6 separate regions of the Homo sapiens genome follow, and regions 2, 3, 4, 5 and 6 are each linked to region 1. Evidence: promoter capture Hi-C in 16 types of primary human blood cells and fetal thymus (Javierre and others, 2016). All regions are on one chromosome and are shown on one strand. The core of a region is centred on a gene start or on the middle of the fragment in contact, and the rest is flanking DNA. Distances in the headings are between cores, read along the strand shown. Region 1 holds the start of MACC1 (MET transcriptional regulator MACC1). Region 2 has its middle 120 kb from the start of ITGB8-AS1. Region 3 overlaps MACC1-OT1 (MACC1 3' UTR overlapping transcript 1). Region 4 has its middle 90 kb from the start of ITGB8-AS1. Region 5 overlaps MACC1-OT1 (MACC1 3' UTR overlapping transcript 1). Region 6 overlaps ITGB8 (integrin subunit beta 8).

Region 1 (3,097 bases), core at 350-2,849:
ATACATTTTAAGATAAGATGGTGTTTAACAAACTTTGCCTTAATAGTTTTTATTATCTCTAAAACACAAACAGATAAAAATATTCTATTTGTAAATTAGCTACAAGGAAGTTGAGAAAACTGGAATAAATAATATTTTTGCTTTAAGTTTTAAAAATGAGTCATAACTAAAGCTTTTAAGCAAATTGTAACTAATAATTATGACTTCATAATTTCTAGATTCTGTACACTACCCATGAAATCATATTAAAAATCGCTATTATGAATAAAAGATAATCATGTAATTAAGTTCAGGGGGGCATAAAAGAATCACCACTGAGGTTAAGACAACTTTAAGAATATACCTGAAATTCATCATTATCACCCAGTAATTGCTATGTAAAAACCAGACATTAACATAGATAAGTCAATATCAATCCTAAATTAGACCCACTGAATATAGACTTAAGACATTTTTAGGAAATTAGGAAGACCTTTAATAAATGGAAGGCATTGGAATTTTCACTACATGCTTTTTGATCTTAAAAATAAATTTTTTAAAATCTATCTTTATTAATTGTGGTAAAAAACTTAACATACAATTTACCATCCTAACCATTTGTAAGTGTTTACACTTACAAATTTTAAGTTCAATAGTATTAAATATATTTACATTATTGTACAGTCTCCAAGTGTTTTCATCTTGTAAACTGAAACTCTATATCCATTAAACAACTCTCATTTCTCCTTCCCCCAAGCCCCTGGCAACTACCATTCTAAGTATCATTTATGTGAGTTTGACTACTCCAGATACCTCAGGTAAGTTGAATCATCCAGTATTTGTCTTTTTGTTTCTTTGGTGTGTTTTCCAAGCTTAATTGAAACTTAATTAGGATGAAGCCAAGTTACCCTCCATCATGTATCATCTGTCTATTCAGTACAATGCACTGTGCTAATTTAATGACCCCCTTAACTTAATTACATGATTATCTTTTATTCATAATTTAATGCTATTAACCTAATGAGGTAGGTTATGCACACACACTTTACAGATGAGGAAACTGAGACTTTGCGAGGTGAAACATCTTGTCAATGGTCATAAATCTAATAAGCAGTGGGGCTGCTGATTGCAACTTTATCTATCTTCAAAGCACAGTCTTTTTAACATACCTGTATGCTTTTTGAGATATTTAAAGTTTTTAGGGGATTTCAGCCATCTACATATTTTAAGCAACTCATAGAGTGTTTTGTTTTTGCCTTTGATGGTTAATGTGACCTGGGTTCCTCCTTTTTTTTAAAATAAACTACTTTATTCTAAACCATGTCTCAAGGTATTATTCTATTCTATGTCATGAGGTTTATTCTAACACATGTCCCATAAGCCCACAGAATACCAGTTACCTTCCCTTTATTTAAGCAGGGCTTGATTTGTTAAGCAGCTGGTTTGTTACATTTTTCTGGAAATTATACAACTTCCTAGTGTGTAGCACATATCAATAGTGAAAGGAATATTATTTTTAAAAAATCAGCACTTACATTTGTGGAAGTGAGCCCAAGCTTCTTCAGTTCAGACACATGGTTTTAGTGAATAGAAGTCACTCTACCAAACCCGGGTACTCTTCAAACATGCCTTGCTCCGTATGCAGGCAGGCAACTGCACCCCTGCTTCCTGAGCCACCTGGGACTTGAAGTTCTACCACTGTGGCTCCAAAGCTGCCCAACTAGAAACCCCAAAAGGCAAGAGAACTACGATACCCACAATTCAGGCTCCTCACCCGAAACCAGAAGAGGGCGTATGGCTAGAGTTTCACCCTAAGAAGAAAGGGGAAGCAGGTGGAAAAGCAATTAAAAAAAAATCAGGTGAGTATATCTAAGAACCATCTGTAAATATAATCTTATTTCCATGAAAGGAAATAAAAGTGGTTTAATGTTTGCCAGGGAGTAAGAAGGCACCCTCAGTGTTAGCAATAAGTAAAAAATATTTATGCAAGCAAATCCTCATGCAGCTGGAACTTGCCCCACCAGATTCTCTTTCGGTGATTCAGAGCTGAAGGTGCCTCACTGCCCTGTGGAACAGGTGAATAAAGCCTTCCCAGGTGAGTGACAGTGTCTAACTAGTTCCCCCTTTCCCTCTACATCAGCACTGTGATTGTCACTCAAAGACATAGACATATAGACATAATGGAGACCTTTTGGCATTTCATCTTCTAAAATGCTCTGGATTTTTAAGATAACACTTTAAAATGTGCCTTTTAAAATATAAGCAAGAATAAAGTTTTCTTGATATTTTCTTCCATTTTACTTTCCATTTCTGTGTTTTGTGTTTTCCTTCTGTGTATTTTGTTCAAAATTCAAGAAAGAGAAAATTAGGGGAAAGGGGAAAAAAGGTAAAACTTAGTGAAATGAAATGTGCAATAATTGTTTCACATTTTTTTCCAACATCAGCAACAGAGAATGTTTAAAACAAATGTGTTTCTCTATTTGTTCATACAGCATCTCTCTCTAGCCTATTATCTCCTGTTAGACACAGCCCAGAAAATGAATAGAGACAAGTCCTGGCTGGGTCTGGGTTCAGAAACATAATAGAAGGATTCATCTAATGTAAGTAGATGGCAGAATGGTGACAAAGAAAAAGTTTCCTTTCCCTTTTCTGCACTTTCTCTCCTACTGTTCTAACCACCCCTTCCTCCCTGATGCATCCCTGGCTTCATGCTGCCAGATCACCTAATCCACCCAGATTCCCTTTGAAGTTTCCCCTTGACTCATCCCACAATCCAAACTGAGCTGTTCTGTTTCTTTTTGTCACAGGTTCCTCAACTCTCTACTAGAACCTAGCTTTCCTTTATGTCATTATATTATTTCCAAAACAAATGGTTCTTAATTTCCCCAAACCCTACAGAGGGCATTCTGCATGGCATTTCTCCTCCCTGAAACCATTTTTGCTCATCTTGAAATGTTCAGAGATTTCATTTTTTCCAAAGCTCAATGAAAAACACTCTTCAAGATGTCCTTCTCAGTTTGTCTTAATCTGAGTTATTCTCTTCCTCCTAATCAATTTCATAATATTGCATCTGCTCCTCTCATAACACATTGTATATCTCATTTCATTGGTTTACATG
Region 2 (3,097 bases), core at 251-2,750, 230 kb after region 1:
CACACACAATTTCACACATCAGATGTTCTGCTTTAAATGTAACATGGAGAAGTATTTGTGACAGATGGTCCTAAACATTTGTCTTCCTTAGATCATCTGGTTTAACTACTCACTTCATAATTTTCAATTGCTCATTTCTTTTTTTCTGAAGAAAATTAGTGTATAACACTGAACTAGAAAAAAAATGGACACTAGTTTTTATGTAGTTTTGGTAGTATTATTTTCTAGTATCTTACAACTAGTTGGCCATCCATAGAACAAATGTGAATGCATATGTCAAATGTAAAACAAATGGTGCTCATATCCCATACATGCCTCACCTTAAAAGCATGCCATGGAGTGCAGAGTGTGATGGGTGGAGTGAGATGGTGGCATGAGAAAAGCCAGCATTCTCACAAAAGCAAGAGAAGTTAATTCCTTGGAGGAGACAGAAGAAGGAGGAGGAATTAAAGAAGAATTCATGAACACCTATTTCACAGCAAAACTATTCAACTAGCCAAGAAGTGGAAACAACCCAAGCATCCATCAACAGCTGAATGGATGAACAAAGGGTGGAAAACACACACAATGGAATATTATTCTACTGTAAAAAGGAAGGACATTCTGCCACATGCTACAACATGGATGCACCTGGAAAACATATGCTAAGTGAAATAAACCATCATAAGACCCCAAACCCTGTGTGATTCCACTTATATATCTAGAGTAGATAAATTCATAAAAATAGAAAGTGGAATGATGATTGGCAGGGAATGTTGGGAGGGGTAATTGGAGATCTGTTTAATGAGTTTCCATTTTGAAAGACAAAAATGTTTTGGAGATTAGTTGCACAGTAGTGTGAATATACTTAGCACTACTGAACTATATACACTTCAAAATGCTTAAGATGGCAAATTTTTATGTTATGCGGGCTTTTTGCCACAATCTATTAAAAAGAGGTCTTTGGAGAGAAAGATCATTTGAACAAAACAATAATATGAATGATTACAAAAAATTGGCAGGGGTTGGCAGGGGTGGAGGGACAAGCCTTAAACCAAAAGAATACATTGGGCAGGGATAGAATTGGGAAGATGTAAAATAGTCACAGATCAGCAACTCTCTCAGGGCAGGTCATCACTTCATCAAGTAATAGGCCAAACGATGAGGCTGGAAATGTAGATTTGAGCCTATGTTGGACATATGTTTGTCTGCACAATACCACCTCCCCAGCTTTGAATGACCTGTCCCCCTCCCTTTCCATTCAATCTTCCTCAATCCATATGATTTGGATAGAATTAATCCCAGGCTTAAATAATCAAAGTACTCCCTTCTGCAAACATATACACACATAGGAAGAGGTCATGTAGGTTCTGCTCCAGAATTTTGTTGGCACTGTCAGAAAAGAGACTCTCTTTTCCCTTGAGATTTAAGATTCAAGTACCATGTAGACCTGGAGATGCCCCTGGACATTTTTTCCTATATAGAGAAAGCCTACTGAAAATACAGAGGAAATCAAAGGTGAAAAACAAGAAAAAATAGATAAAAGGGAAGAAAAGAAAGAAAGAAAGAGGGAAAGAAAGGAGAGAAAAGCAAAGGAAAAGGAAAAGAAACAGAGAGAAAGCAAGCAAAGAGAGAGGAAGAAAGAGATCGAGAGAAAGGGAGAGAGAAAAGGGGAAGAAATGGGAAAGGTAGGAGAGGCAAGGAGGAAGAAAAGAAGGAAACAGTACTGATTAATATTGTTTGAACATCTGAATCCAACTATGCCTAGAATCAGATCAACCCTATACTGTTCTGTTTTGCTAACCACCCTCCCCCTCCAAAAAAAAATTCCCTAGTTTGGCTTAAGCTGGCATAAGACGAGTTTTTGTCATTTGAAATCACACGAGTTCTGACTAATACAGGGCTAGATTGTGGGGATCCTAGAGAAAGGAAACAGGAAAATATGATATCAGTACTCACTTTGTCAGACACTGCACTAAGTCCCTCGGATATCACAATGAACAAAACAACTTTTTTCCCTGCCTTCATGAAACTAACAGTTTCTTAAGCCCCAGTCACATGAGTTTCATCCCTAGTTATAAGCATCTCTTTGTGGTTTTTGTTTGTTTAATGTTGAAGTCCTACTGCCAATAGTAAATCAGAGCTAGATTTGGTCTATAACAGCATATCCAAAATTTCCTGATGAAAAGAATCACCTGGGTTACTTGCTTTAAAAAGCTCAGGCCATCCCCAGCCCACATAATTAGGAGCTTTAGGGATGTGAGCTGAGAGTTTTGTTTTGTTTTGTTTTGTTTTTTTGAGATGGAGTCTCGCTCTGTCACCTAGGCTGGAGTGCAGTGGCGCGATCTCCGCTCACTGCAAGCTCCACCTCCCGGGTTCACGCCATTCTCCTGCCTCAGCCTCCTGAGTAGCTGGACTGCAGGCGCCCGCCACCTTACCCGGCTAATTATTTGTATTTTTAGTAGAGATGTGGTTTCACCGTGTTAGCCAGGATGGTCTCAATCTCCTGACCTCGTGATCCGCCCGCCTCGGCCTCCCAAAGTGCTGGGATTACAGGTACGAGCCACCGTGCCCGGTGGGAGCTGAGAGTATTTTTAAAAGTTTGAGGCCCAGGTGATTCTTATCATCAGAGAAGTATGTGAAATGCTAATCTTGTTATTCAATATACTTTCCATGGAAGAGTGGCAATGGATTTGTTAATAATGTGGCATTTCAGATCCCTCTCCAGACCTGCTGAATCAGGATAAACCTGTAATATTTTGATACAGATAGCTTGTGTTGTCTGAGATTTTTTTCCAAAAATCAGGGGCAGGGAGAAAGAAATCTGACACAGAACCTCATTCAGAAGTGCTTTCCAACAAAATCCATTTATTTCAAACTCAAGATGGCATTAACTAAAAATTAGATATCACCTGCACTGCTTTAAGCCCATTGCCAGTGATGTCACTCTCTGTGAACTGTATCTAAGGTCTAAATAGCGCATCATACAACTCTAGGAGAGAACATTGATGCTGTGTGCATGTGGATGGCACCCTCAGGAGTTGGATACTATAGCAGTCCTGAATCCAGGCCCAACTAGAGATTCATTTGGAGTCAAGCTCTGAAGACTCAACCTGGT
Region 3 (3,097 bases), core at 168-2,667, 240 kb before region 1:
TCAAGCATTTATCCTTGAGTAATAAACAATCCAACTACTGTATTTAAGTTATTTTGAAGTGTACAATAATTATTGACTATCGTTACCCCATTGTGCTATCAAATAGTAGGTATTATTCCATTGTTTCTAACTATATTTTGTATTGTATCCATTAACCATCCCCACTTCCCTACTATTAATAACTCCTAATTACCCTTCTCAGCCCCTGGTAACCGTTCTACTCTGTATGTTCATGAGTTCAACTGTTTTGGTTTTTAGCTCCCATAAATGAATGATAAAATGAAGTGTTTTTCTTTCTGTACATGGCTTGTTTCACTTAACATAATGATCCACAGTTCCATCTATGCTGTTGCAAATGACTAGGTCTCATTCATTTTTATGACTGAATGGTACTCCATTGTATATATGTACCACATTTTCTTTATCCATTTATCTTTTTATGGAAACTTAGGTTACTTCCTCTTATTAGCTATTGCAAACAGTGCTGCAACAAACATAGGAGTGCAGATATCTCTTCAATATACTGATTTCTTTTCTTTTGGGTATATACCCAGCAGTGAGATTGCTGGATTATATGGTAGCTCAATTTTTAGTTTCTTGAGGAAGCTCTAAACTGTTCTCCATAATGGTTGTACTAATGTACCTTCCCACCAACAGTGTACAATAGTTCCCTTTTCTCCACATCCTTGCCAGCCTTTGTTACTGCCTGTTTTTTGGATATAATCTATTTTAACTAGGGTGAGATGATAGCTCATTATAGTTTTGATTTGCATATCTCTGATGATCCGTGGTGCTGAATACCTTTTCATATGTTTCTTTGCCATTTGTATGTCTTCTTTTGAGAAATGTCTATTCAAATATTTTGCCCATTTTTTGATCCAATTATTAGATTTTTTCCTACAGAGTTTTTCGAGCTTCTTATATATTCTGGTTATTAATCTTTTGTCAGATGGGTAGTTTGCAAATATTTTCTCCCATTCTATGGGTTGTCTCTTCATTTTGTTGATTGTACCTTTTGCTGTGCAGAATCTTTTTAGCTTGATGTGATTCTATTTGCCCATTTTTTGTTTTGGTTGCCTGCACTTTTTGGGTATTGCTCAATAAATTTTTGCCCAGACTAATGTCCTGGAGATTTTTCCCAATATTTTCTTGTAGCAGTTTTATAGATTGAAATCTTAGATTTAAGTCTTTAATTCACTTTAATTTGATTTTTGTATATGGTGAGAGATAGGATTCTAGTTTCATACTTCTGCATATGGATGTCCAGTTTTCCCAGAAAAATTTATTGAAGAGACTGTCTTTTTCCCAGTGTATGTTCTTGGCACCTCTGTCAAAAATGAGTTCACTGTAGGCAGTGTGGATTTATTTCTGGGGTCTCTATTCTGTTCCATTGGTGTATGTGTCTGCTTTTATGCTTGTACCATGCCCTTTTGGTTACTATAGCTCTGTACTATAATTTGAAGTCAGCTAATATAGTTCCTCCAGTTTTGTTCTTTTTGCTTAGGATGGCTTTGGCTCTTCTGGGCCTTTTTGTGTTTCCATATAAATTTTAGAATTGTTTTTAATATTTCTGTGAAGAATGTCATTAGTACTTTGATAGGGATTGCACTGAATCTGTGGATTGCTTTGGGTAATAAGGATATTTAACAATATTAATTCTTACAATCCATGAACATGGAATATTTTTTCAAATTTTGTTGGCTTCTTCAATTTCTTTCATCAGTGTTTTATATTTTTCATTATAGAGATCTTTTATTTCTTTAAGATAATTATTGTTTCATTTTTTGCATGGCTATTATAAATGGGATTATATTTGTATTTCTTTTTCAGATTGTTCATTGTTGTCATATTGAAATGCTAATGATTTTTATGTTAATTTTGTGTATGCACATTTACTGAATCTATTCATCACTTTTTTTGTTTTTTGGTTTGTTTTGAGATGGAATCTCACTCTGTCACCCAGGCTGGAGTGCAGTGGCATGATCTTGGCTCACTGCAACCTCCACTTCCTGAGTTCAAGCAATTCTCCTGCCTCAGCCTCCCGAGTAGCTGGGATTACAGGCAAAAGCCACCATGCCTGGCTACTTTTTGTATTTTAGTAGAGATCGGGTTTCACCACGTCAGCTAGGCTGGTCTCGAACTCCTGACGTCAGGTGATCCACCCACCTAGGCCTCCCAAAGTACTGGCGTTACAGACGTGAGCCACTGCACCTGGCCTGTTTATCAGTTTTAAAAGGTTTCCTGTGGAGTCTTTAGGATTTTCCAAATATAAGATCATATCATCTGCAAATAAGGGTCATTTGACTTCTTCCTTTCCATTTTGGATGCCTTTTATATCTTTCTCTTGTCTGATTGCTCTAGCTAGGACCTCAAGTACTATGTTGAATAATAGTGGTGACAGTAGGCATCCTTATCATGTTCCTTATCTTCGAAAAAAGGCTTTCAGTTTTTTCCCATTCAGTATGATACTATCTGTGGGTCTGTCATATATGGCTTTTATTATTTTGAGGTACGCTCCTTCTATAACAGTTTTTTAGGGTTTTTATCATGAAGGGATGTTGTATTTTATCAAATGTTTTTTCAGCATCAATTGAAATAATCATATTGTTTTTATCCTTCATTCTGTTGATATGATGTATACATTGATTGATTGGTGTAGGTTGTTTCTCCTTGCTTCCCAGGGATAAATCCCACTTGGTCACAATAAATGATCTTTCTAATGCATTGTTGTATTTGGTTTGCTAGTATTTTGTTGAGGATTTTTGCATCAATGTTCATCAGAGACACCGGCCTGTAGTTTTCTTTTTCTGACGTGTCTTTGTCTGGTTTTGGTATCAGGGTAATACTGACCTTGTAGAATGAGTTTAGACATATTTCCTCCTCCTTTATTTTTTAAGAATAGTTTGATAGGATTGGTATTAATTGTTTAAATGTTTGGTAGAAATCAGTGGTAAAGCCATGGGTCCCCAGGCTTTTCTGCATTGGAATTCTTTTTATTATAGCTTTGATTTTGTTACTTGTTATTGGTCTCTTCAGGTTTTGAATTTCTTCTTGGTTCAATCTTGGTAGGTTGTATGTATCTAGGAATTTGTCCATT
Region 4 (3,097 bases), core at 151-2,650, 200 kb after region 1:
TATTATCAAAATAAACCTAATTGAAAGATAATATCACTTTCGATGTAATTATTTATATATGAACTTTTTCATCATAATTAGAAGCAGTTGTGGTCTGTACAAGAAAAACAAGTGATATCTTGTCTTTCAACGTGGTAATCCTTTAGCACTGATGTGGGCTGGTGCATTATTTCATACTCAGGGCCTAGTCACTCAGACTAGACTGGTGAGAGGGAAACTCCTGCTTTATTGGGCTTTGGCATGCTCTTGCTGTTTTACTTTGTCATGATTACGAAATTCATTCTACCATCATTAAAGTCAAGAGAGATAATTATTCACTTAAAAAATCTTAATTTACCATTAACATTTTTCCCATTAAATACAAGATAATCTATAAATTCACAGTTTCAAAGGGTAGTTCCCAGTCCAAGAGCATCACCATCACCTAGAAGTTTGTAGAAACGCAGATTTTTTGGTCTCCATCAAGACCTTCTGAATCAGAAACTCTGGGACTGTGGCCCAGCGATGTTCTTCCCCCCTCCCAACCCGGAAGCTTATTAGAAACCAGCAGTGTGTTTTAACATGCTCTTTAAGTGACCCTAATGCCCACTGATGCCTGAGAACCACTTGCAAAGAGTGAAAACTAACATCAGATGACCAAAAAGGTACAGATTATGCTGACCCCAGACAAAACTTTATCTGATCTTGAGGGGAAGAAAATGTTCTAGGAAACATAGCAAGACTGTCTCTTACAAAAAAAAAAAAAAAAATTCTTTTAATTAGCCAGGCCTAGTGTCAAATGCCTGTAATCCCAGCCACTTGGTAGGCTAAGGCAGGAGGATCACTTGAGCCTAGGGGATCAAAGCTTCGGTGGGCTATGATCACTCTGCTGTACTTCAGCCTGACTGACACAGTGAGATTCTGTCTCAGGAAAAAAAAAAAAAAAAAATATATATATATATATATATATATATATAAATATATACATTTATACACACATATATATATATTTCTACAAGCACGCATCCAAATTGTCTCTATTTCACTAATTTTGCTCTTATTCTGGTAGTAAGTCTGCTTTAATGAGGGCTTGGAAAAGGGAAAATGACCCTCTGAGTGCCAATGACTAGCAAAAGGGAAACAAAACATAGAGACATACGTGTAAGGGTCAGTCGGACCCAAAGAATAAGTGAAACATCAGGGGAAAAAAATATATGTGTCTCATTATTGGAAAAATAAAGCCAGGACAAAAGATGAGAGATCATCAGTCAATAATTGTGGGGAGGAGTCAGAGGGGACTTGGATTAATGGAAAGTCTAAATCTAGAAAGTTTAATTTTGTCTAACATAATTTTCCATGATACTCCAACTAGACGATAAGTATCTAGGCACCTATTACGTTAGGCTTCTGTGAGCTATGATGTCTGTATCTGTTCCATTTTTCTAGTAACATACTAAATGGAAATAGGCCAAAGCATAATTTAGGATATAAATTGTTTTGATGAAGGGTTCCATCTTCTCTTACAAATGTTTACTATTTTACCTACAGAGAGTAACTAGCTCTCATTTCAGACAGCAGTCCAGGTGGGCCTACTAGTAAGAGGGTGCTATAAAGTTAGCTCCAGGACCTCACCTCAAAGAATGTGACTGAGAAAAGATTTACAGACTATGATCACAGTGCTCTTCTAAGAACTGTTCATTAAATAAGCCACAGATATTAAGCAGTAGGTGTTTTCTGTTCTTCCTGAAGATTATTAGGTTTTACCAGGGATAATAGAATAATACTCGCTGGAAATTAAAATTCCTCCTTTGTTTATTTATTTCAATACCATATTCATTTGTTAACTTGCTTGGTCTCTGTTTAGAATATTAGTTAGCAAGGAATAAATATTTTGTTTACAGTTTCCCAAAACGTTTTCTTTTTTCAAGAAAACACAATTTCTTATGTATTTTTGGTGGGGCATTTAACAGGCCTGAGAAAGCTTACCAGGGTAGAAATTTGTCATGAAAATTTACTTTTAATCCCTGCCAGATCCAGTGATCAGGTGGGCACCAAGGGCATGGGATGCTAGAATGGGCCTCCACCTACATCACTTTCAACTGGGGCACCTACTAATTGTTATGCTAAGATATCAAGGTGAGGTGTGCCCTCCCTCCCACAGTTTCAGATTTTCAAAGGAAATGGTACTGAGAACCTGCTATAGAATTCTGGACCCCTCAAGCCATGGAGGATATAAAGAGGGAAGAGATAGGAGGAGAGGAAGATCGTTTAAACATTTTTTGAGACCTCTCTGCTGTGAGCCTCCACTCCACTTCTCTTTGGGGACAGTCTGAAGATGTTCCACCTAACCTTCTGCTTGGTGGGGCTTCAAGGGAACCATGAGGAGCTTTGAAACGTGTTCCTTACTTTTAAGAGACAGAGAAGTCTGATGCTTGGCTTGTGCCAGAAAGTCTTCATCGTAGATTATTGCTAATAACACATAAGACTGTGGCCTGGGTCCTATCTCCTCCCAGGAAAACTAAAGGGAATAAATGTCTAGTACTAGTTTTGGTATGTCCATTCTAACTCTAATTAAGTGTCTATTCTCACTCCACAGGTTAGAGTTTAATTTGAAACAGAATATATAAGTACCATTTTCTTTCCTTTCAAATAGCAAATCAATAATATCAGACTCTTTTCAGGAATGATTTTGGATATAACTAACAACTCCCTCTCCCCCGACCAAAGAATCTGAAAAGAACCAAAAATGTCTATAAAATATTTTCAATTAAGCTGTTTAACATGTTTTCTTAAAGTAAGAATTTATATTTTGATACATTTGAAATTTATGAGATTACTTTGCATAAAGTAGATTACCTTTTTTTTTTTTTTTTAGAAAAAAGTAGATTACTGGCTGGGCACAATAGCTCATGCCTGTAATCCCAGCACTTTGGGAGACCGAGGCAGGTGGATCACCTGAGGTCAGGAGTTCGAGACCAGCCTGGCTGACATAGTGAAACCCCGTCTCTACTAAAAATACAAAAAATTAGCCGGGCGTGGTGGCAGGAGCCTGTAATCTCAGCTACTCAGGAGGCTGAGGTAGGAGAATCGCTTGAACCCAGGAGGCGGAGATTGCAGT
Region 5 (3,097 bases), core at 171-2,670, 200 kb before region 1:
TCATATCTACTACTCCCTCTTGGAAATTCTGAGTGCTAACAGACTTTGTAAATAAACAGCCGACATTCATCACAATCCACAAAATGCAAACAAAACAATACATTTAGTATCTAGCAGTCATCTTCAAGGAATTGCATGTGCATGGCATCATTTAAACATTTTTTAAAAAAACAAAGAAAATTAAACAAAAATACACAGAAAATTTTTAAAAAGTTAGTTATTCTGCCTTAAATTCTACAAAAAAGACAAGAAAGATGATTGAAAAACATAAATGCACAAGGATAAAGCCAACGTGAGAAGACAGTACTACAACAGAGTTTGGGAAACTAGAAAGCAGGTGTATCAATTTACTATGGCTACTTTAAACAATACCTCAAATTTGGTGACTTAAAACAGCGCACATTTATTTTCTTACAGTTCTGGATATCAGAAGCTCAAAGGGTTTCAATAGATTAAACCAAAGTGCTAGCAGGGGTACACTTCCTCAGGAAGCTCTATGATGGAATCTCTTTCCCTGCCTTTTCCAAATTCTAGAGCTGCATTCCTTGCATTTCTTGGCTCATCACCCCTTCCTCCACCTTCAAAGCTAGCAGCAAAGTATCTTCAATTCTCTGTTTCCATCATCATATCACCTTCTTCCTCTTTTGTGGTCAAATCTCTGTCCACCCTCCTCTCATGATTATATTTAGGAAACACCTGGAAAATCCCCCTCTCTGAAGATACTTAACTGAATTACATATGCAAGGCCCCCTTTTGCCATGTAAAGTAACTCTCTCAGGTTCCATGAAATAGATCTTAGATATCTTTGGGGCACATTATTCAAGCTATCACTGAGGTAAGAAGCTTAGTACCTCAAAGCTGAAAACTACACTATCAGTAAGGAAAGCAACTGACATTTTTTTCACAGAAAAATGCTAACTGAGGCTTAGTCATTGAAGGCAGCAGCCAGGTACCTCTGCAACAGAGGGTAATGGGTGGTGTGAAAATTAAGAGAATCGATTAGCTATAGAAGAAGGTACAAGATTCCACAGATTACTTTCCCAACCCTTTTCTGTCAGGTCACTGCCTCTCTCCCCATGTCATGGAATCAGGGACACTGCACATTGCTAACGGAAAGGGTACCACATGGAAAAAAAGGATATTCATTAACCAATCATTGAAGCCCAGTCACCTTTCCCCAGCTGGATCTAAAAATGCTACATAAGATGTATCAGCCTATCAATAGTTGGCTAATAAATGAGTATTCTTTGCTTGCGGAAATGTACCAGGAGAATAGGAGAACAGCAGACACTGGGAAAGGCAGATCTCCTGATAAAACCAAATTAAGCATCATAGAGTAAATCCCACCAGTAGACAGGGCCCACACAGCCACACATACCTTGAAATCAGATTTTTATTGTCTCTGTCTTAAATCTGAATGGAAAGTCTCATATAGCCAGACATAGAAGAAAGCCTTCATTTAGAGGACTGAAGCAAGCCTCTAACATAAAGGGTGAAGACTTAAGTAAACAAAGGGTGGCAGGGGGAGAAACTCATCAAAGAAGCAAAAGAATTTTTAAATTTTCTCATAAAAAATGTTGGAACTTCAGAGAGCTGAGAGTTATTGTACTCATAAAATGAGAACATGGGGTAATTTGTTTTAATGTCATGAATAGAACCCAAAAATCTTGGGAAATACAATTATTATCATGGTAAAATAAAGTTCAATAAGAAAAGTAAAAAACAAGTTGAAAAAATCTCTCACAAAGAAAAAAATAGAAAACATTAGAATATTATTCTAGGACTTAAAACACTGAACACTTAGAATTACAGAAAGAAAGAAGAGAGAAGATGGAGAAGAAAAAAATAAAGAAAATGTTTAAAAATGTTTCAGGCTGAAAGATTTGAAGTTTCACATTGAGAGGGATCATCAAGAGTTCAATACAATGGTTACACAAGACCCATGGAAAACTACCTCACTGAGAAATTTCAGAACACTGATTACAAAGTGAAGTCCTAGAAGCTTCTGAAGAGAAGTCAGAAGAGTCCACATTCAGAAATCAAAATTACATCAGACCCTCAATAGAAATGTTAGAAGCTAGACAATAATGGTGTGATATCTTCAAAATTCTGAGAGAAAGTGATTTCCAACTAAGACTTGTATACCCAGCCAAACTATTTTTTTAATCAGACACAGCAGTTCAAATGAAGGCATGCAACTTTTCAATAATTTTACCACTCACACAGTCTCTCTCAGGAAGCTAGAGGAGGATATAATTGACTAAAATAAGGTGATTCACTAAGGAAGAGCAAAACAGGTGACCCAAGCAAGAAAGGATCCATTAAAAATATTTCAAAATAAAGACATGATATGAATTCCAAAAAATATGGCAATAAAATCCTAGAACAAGTTTTTTTCTCAACTGAGGGTAATTTTGTCCCCCAGGGGATATATGACAATGTATAGAAACAGTTTTGTTATCACAAGTACAGGAGTGGAGGAGAGTGCTACTGTCAGCTAGTGGATTGGTGGATAGAGGCCAGGGATGCTGCCAAACATCCTACAACGTGCAGGACAATCTCCTGCAATAAATAATAATGCAGCTCAAAATGTCAATAGTGCCAAGGAAGTTGAGAAACCCAGTCCTAGTAAACAGTAGCTGTGCAACAGACTGAAACAGGAACCAGGGCAACTTAAGGGTAAAAGACTTAGAATTAATTTTGTGGTCAGTTTAGAACCACTGACTTATTAGAGCTAAGCCTCAGAAAGTAGCTTTCAACAAATACAAAAAATTATGACATAATGTGAGCAATGCAGTTAAAGAGCCAGGCAGAAAGAACTTGGGGACACAACTAAGCTACATTCCTTGGTCCTGATCACTTCATTACTAATTTTTGGCCTAACATAAAAGATTCTTCATGACCTTGCCATGAACTAACATTCCAATTTTATCTCCTGTCAGTTTCCTCCACTATACAATTTATGGGCTTCTGAACACACATCAATTTAATTCTCCATCATTGCACATACCATTTTTCATCATGAATATCTCTGTCTACCTTGTCCTCTCAAGGAATTTATCACCATCTCCAAAACTAAGCTCCAAAACTCAATAAA
Region 6 (3,097 bases), core at 266-2,765, 180 kb after region 1:
TGTGAATAGGATAAAATGCAAGAATAAATGGATTTCAAAACTTTTTACCATCTGATTTCCTATAAGTACGTGCCCTTTAGTCAGATTGGCTTTTTTCTATTTTTGCTTCATCTTCGATTCATGCAGACCTTTAAAGCCTTTGCTCATTCTCCCTAAAAATACCTACGGTCTTCTCCATAATAAGCAGCATGCATCAAGAACACATACCCCATGAAGTTTCCACTTGTGACTATGATTTTTCCTAACTAAAGAAGTTTTGGGAAATGCTGCATTAAATAATGTTAAATCATTTCTAGATTGCAGGCCTACTCTGAAACTTTTAATTTGCAAATGTGCATTTTATGTTTCTAAGTGGAAGAAACCATATGCAGAACTTCCCAAGCTCATTTGCCCTCAAAACTTTTGTATGTTTAAAATCTCTTGGGCTTTACATTCCATGGAAGAAATTTGGGAGATGCTCATCTGCATTTCGATTGGATTTTTAGGTCATCAGGTACAGTGATTCCGGATGCACACACAGTCATGCACATGTACAGACACACACAACCACTACATGGGTATATGTTCTGGCTGCTCTACTAGGTTGCTTATATTTTTCTTGTGTCTTATAGGTTTTCATTCATTTAATGGTTCACCTTCAACTGATAACTACAAAAATATTTACTATTTGTTGGTTGCTAACCCATTACATACTATTGTCATTGTTTAAATGCTACTGATATGTTTTATAGGATCTTCTACCCCTCTTGCCAGGCACCATTGCTGGTGAAATAGAATCAAAGGCTGCAAACCTCAATAATTTGGTAGTGGAAGCCTATCAGGTATGTATATATTAGATACAATTTTTTAAATAAAATTTTTACCTCAATTTCTGTGACAAGGTACAAAGTAGTGCCATGTCATCTCGAGAGGAGGAGTAGAAAGCATATTAGATTAGGAATTAGGAATCTGAAGTTCATCCCTGGCCCTACCACTAACTAGCTTTTTGCTTTGGGAAAGTTATTTCTGCTTTCTGTGCCTCACTTTTCTCATTGACAGTCAACAGAGATTGGGCTAGAGGCTATCTAAATTTCCTTCTACATCCAGTGCTCAGTGAATCATCAAGTCATAGCTATAGAATGTACATTATTACCATGAAATTGCGTCATTTCCTATGCCGTAATGATAAAGTAGAAGTCCACAGTTACGTAAGGCAATAATCTGCCAGGGCAGTTAAACTATCTGGGATATAGCAATTATTAAGAGGAGTCGGTTGGGATCTCTATGATCAACCACTTGATTGTTCAACAATTATTTTAGCATTTTTATCAAAAGAGTTTGATTAAAAGAATCACCTTAGTAGATACTCTGTTTTCTTGAGTTGATGGTTGTATGCTGTCATCAGTCCTATGAAGAGTGAATGCCTCAATGCAAAGAATTTAAAGAAACATCTGTTCTTTCAACCTGCGTCATTCCTGAATAGAACCACCTCTGTTAAGATGTTGTGAAAATAGTGACTGCTACTTTTTTACCACTAAGATCCAGTCACTTTACATACATGACCTCATTCAGTCCTCACACCTGACCTATAAAGCAGGTGGTTAGTACCCACATTGTATATTAGTAGAAACCAAGACTCAGGAAAGTGAAACAAACTTATCAAAGGTTGTTCAACTAATAAGCAGAAGAAAGTGGGATCAGAATCCAGGTGTTCCTTTACTTCAAGCCTCAGGTGCTTCCTCCTCTGCGATACCACCTGTTTTTCATTGTTTTACAGTGTGTCAAAAGATATGCTTTATGCTACCTTGAATTTATGGGCCAACTATAGAGTCTCTTTCCCAAATTCTCTGACTCCCTTCCTAACACGCAGAGTTTAATAGTTAAATTATAGCCAAAGCATTGTGGAAAAACCTCTCGTTTCTCTTCTCGTTTTCTCCAGACAGCACCTTCCTTTAGCTTGGGCACAAAAGAGAAAGGCAGGAAGTAGACACAATATATGAAATGAAGAACTTAGGCCGGGCGCGGTGGTTCATGCCTGTAATCCCAGCACTTTGGGAGGCCGAGGCAGGTGGATCACGAGGTCAGGAGATTGACACCATCCTGGCTAACACGGTGAAACCCTGTCTCTACTAAAAAAAAATTAGCAGGGCATGGTGGCGGGTGCCTGTAGTCCCAGCTACTCGGGAGGCTGAGGCAGGAGAATGGCTTGAACCCAGGAGGCGGAGCTTGCAATGAGCCGAGATTGCGCCACTGCACTCCAGCCTGGGCGACAGAGCAAGACTCCATCTCAAAAAAAAAAAAAAATTAAGAACTTGTTTAAACTTTCATCTTCTAAAAGGAAAATAAATCTTGCTTGATTTGTTTTCACTGAGGATAGTTTTCTATGTCTGAAAAGTACGTTGAGTAAAATAAGGAAGAGCGTCTTAAATTACATCTTTCTCACTGTTACAAAAAAGAACAGTGAGACTGAAGAGGGACTTATCACAGAAAATCAAATGTGTCTACAATTCATTCCCATCAGTAGTCTGTTCCCAAGAATAATCAAAATAAGACAAGAGCTTATGCTGTAAGAAACCACTCTAAATTCTTTAGTATGAACCCATTTATTACTCCAAAAAAAGTATATAAATTTACAGATTTTTACCTGTGTGTCAGACTGCCCCAGTGGCAAAGGAGACAGCAACATTTGGTTATTTTGCCTAGCATAGGTATGCAATGCCTTAGTCCAGTGTAGTTCTCATCAACCGTAAACAGTGGAAAAATAATATTAAATCCAACAAAAACTTACTGGGGCTAACTACTCTCCTTAAGTTGGAATTCTGTTATTATTTTATATATGTTTATATTATCAAAAATCTTCTAAACTTTCATTTTGTCTTCACAGTCCAACAGAATCAATTCACAATCCATTGAAGAATTATATAGAATCTGCCTCTGTACCTATTAGATACTAAAAGGGAAGCTCAAGATTATGTCTGGGGTTGGATTTCTGAATCCCCAAACTGGGCAAAATTTTAAGGATTTGTCTTCACATCAGGCTTGAAAAACATTGGCCTAACTAGCTAAGATCTTTTCCTTTTCTTTCTTTTTTTTTTTTTTTAGATGGAATTTTACTCTG

The links. The method cuts DNA at HindIII sites, captures the fragments that hold promoters and counts their contacts. A CHiCAGO score of 5 or more calls a contact.
Region 2: a fragment that was not itself captured here is called in contact with the fragment with the promoter of MACC1 in region 1 in 3 of 17 cell types (M1 macrophages, M2 macrophages and monocytes); the score reaches 8.2 in M1 macrophages.
Region 3: a fragment that was not itself captured here is called in contact with the fragment with the promoter of MACC1 in region 1 in 2 of 17 cell types (M2 macrophages and M1 macrophages); the score reaches 6.4 in M2 macrophages.
Region 4: a fragment that was not itself captured here is called in contact with the fragment with the promoter of MACC1 in region 1 in 1 of 17 cell types (monocytes); the score reaches 5.4 in monocytes.
Region 5: a contact is called between a fragment that was not itself captured here and the fragment with the promoter of MACC1 in region 1, in 5 of 17 cell types (M0 macrophages, M1 macrophages, monocytes and 2 more). The highest score is 7.3, in M0 macrophages.
Region 6: a fragment that was not itself captured here is called in contact with the fragment with the promoter of MACC1 in region 1 in 1 of 17 cell types (monocytes); the score reaches 5.3 in monocytes.

Annotation. Positions count from the first base shown.
Region 1 is chr7:20,215,785-20,218,881 of GRCh38, forward strand. MACC1 (MET transcriptional regulator MACC1) reads right to left here and starts at 1,600. Exons shown (of 7, transcript NM_182762.4): 1 at 1,515-1,600. It overlaps GIRGL (glutamine insufficiency regulator of glutaminase lncRNA), which reads left to right and starts at 1,793. Exons shown (of 4, transcript NR_134569.1): 1 at 1,793-1,838; 2 at 2,472-2,579. RefSeq lists an enhancer at 1,425-2,624. The HindIII fragment of the contact is 5,395 bases long and covers 1,534-3,097 here.
Region 2 is chr7:20,447,440-20,450,536 of GRCh38, forward strand. No RefSeq gene overlaps it. Among named protein-coding and RNA genes, the nearest start is that of ITGB8-AS1, 120 kb to the left of the region's middle. The HindIII fragment of the contact is 5,138 bases long and covers 1-3,097 here.
Region 3 is chr7:19,978,350-19,981,446 of GRCh38, forward strand. The region is part of intron 3 of MACC1-OT1 (MACC1 3' UTR overlapping transcript 1); the gene reads right to left. Among named protein-coding and RNA genes, the nearest start is that of MACC1-OT1, 160 kb to the right of the region's middle. The HindIII fragment of the contact is 6,365 bases long and covers 1-3,097 here.
Region 4 is chr7:20,419,947-20,423,043 of GRCh38, forward strand. No RefSeq gene overlaps it. Among named protein-coding and RNA genes, the nearest start is that of ITGB8-AS1, 90 kb to the left of the region's middle. The HindIII fragment of the contact is 1,116 bases long and covers 843-1,958 here.
Region 5 is chr7:20,019,297-20,022,393 of GRCh38, forward strand. The region is part of intron 3 of MACC1-OT1 (MACC1 3' UTR overlapping transcript 1); the gene reads right to left. Among named protein-coding and RNA genes, the nearest start is that of MACC1-OT1, 120 kb to the right of the region's middle. RefSeq lists an enhancer at 638-727. The HindIII fragment of the contact is 1,159 bases long and covers 842-2,000 here.
Region 6 is chr7:20,394,165-20,397,261 of GRCh38, forward strand. It overlaps ITGB8 (integrin subunit beta 8), which reads left to right. Exons shown (of 14, transcript NM_002214.3): 8 at 732-821. Among named protein-coding and RNA genes, the nearest start is that of ITGB8-AS1, 64 kb to the left of the region's middle. RefSeq lists an enhancer at 813-2,012. The HindIII fragment of the contact is 5,095 bases long and covers 1-3,097 here.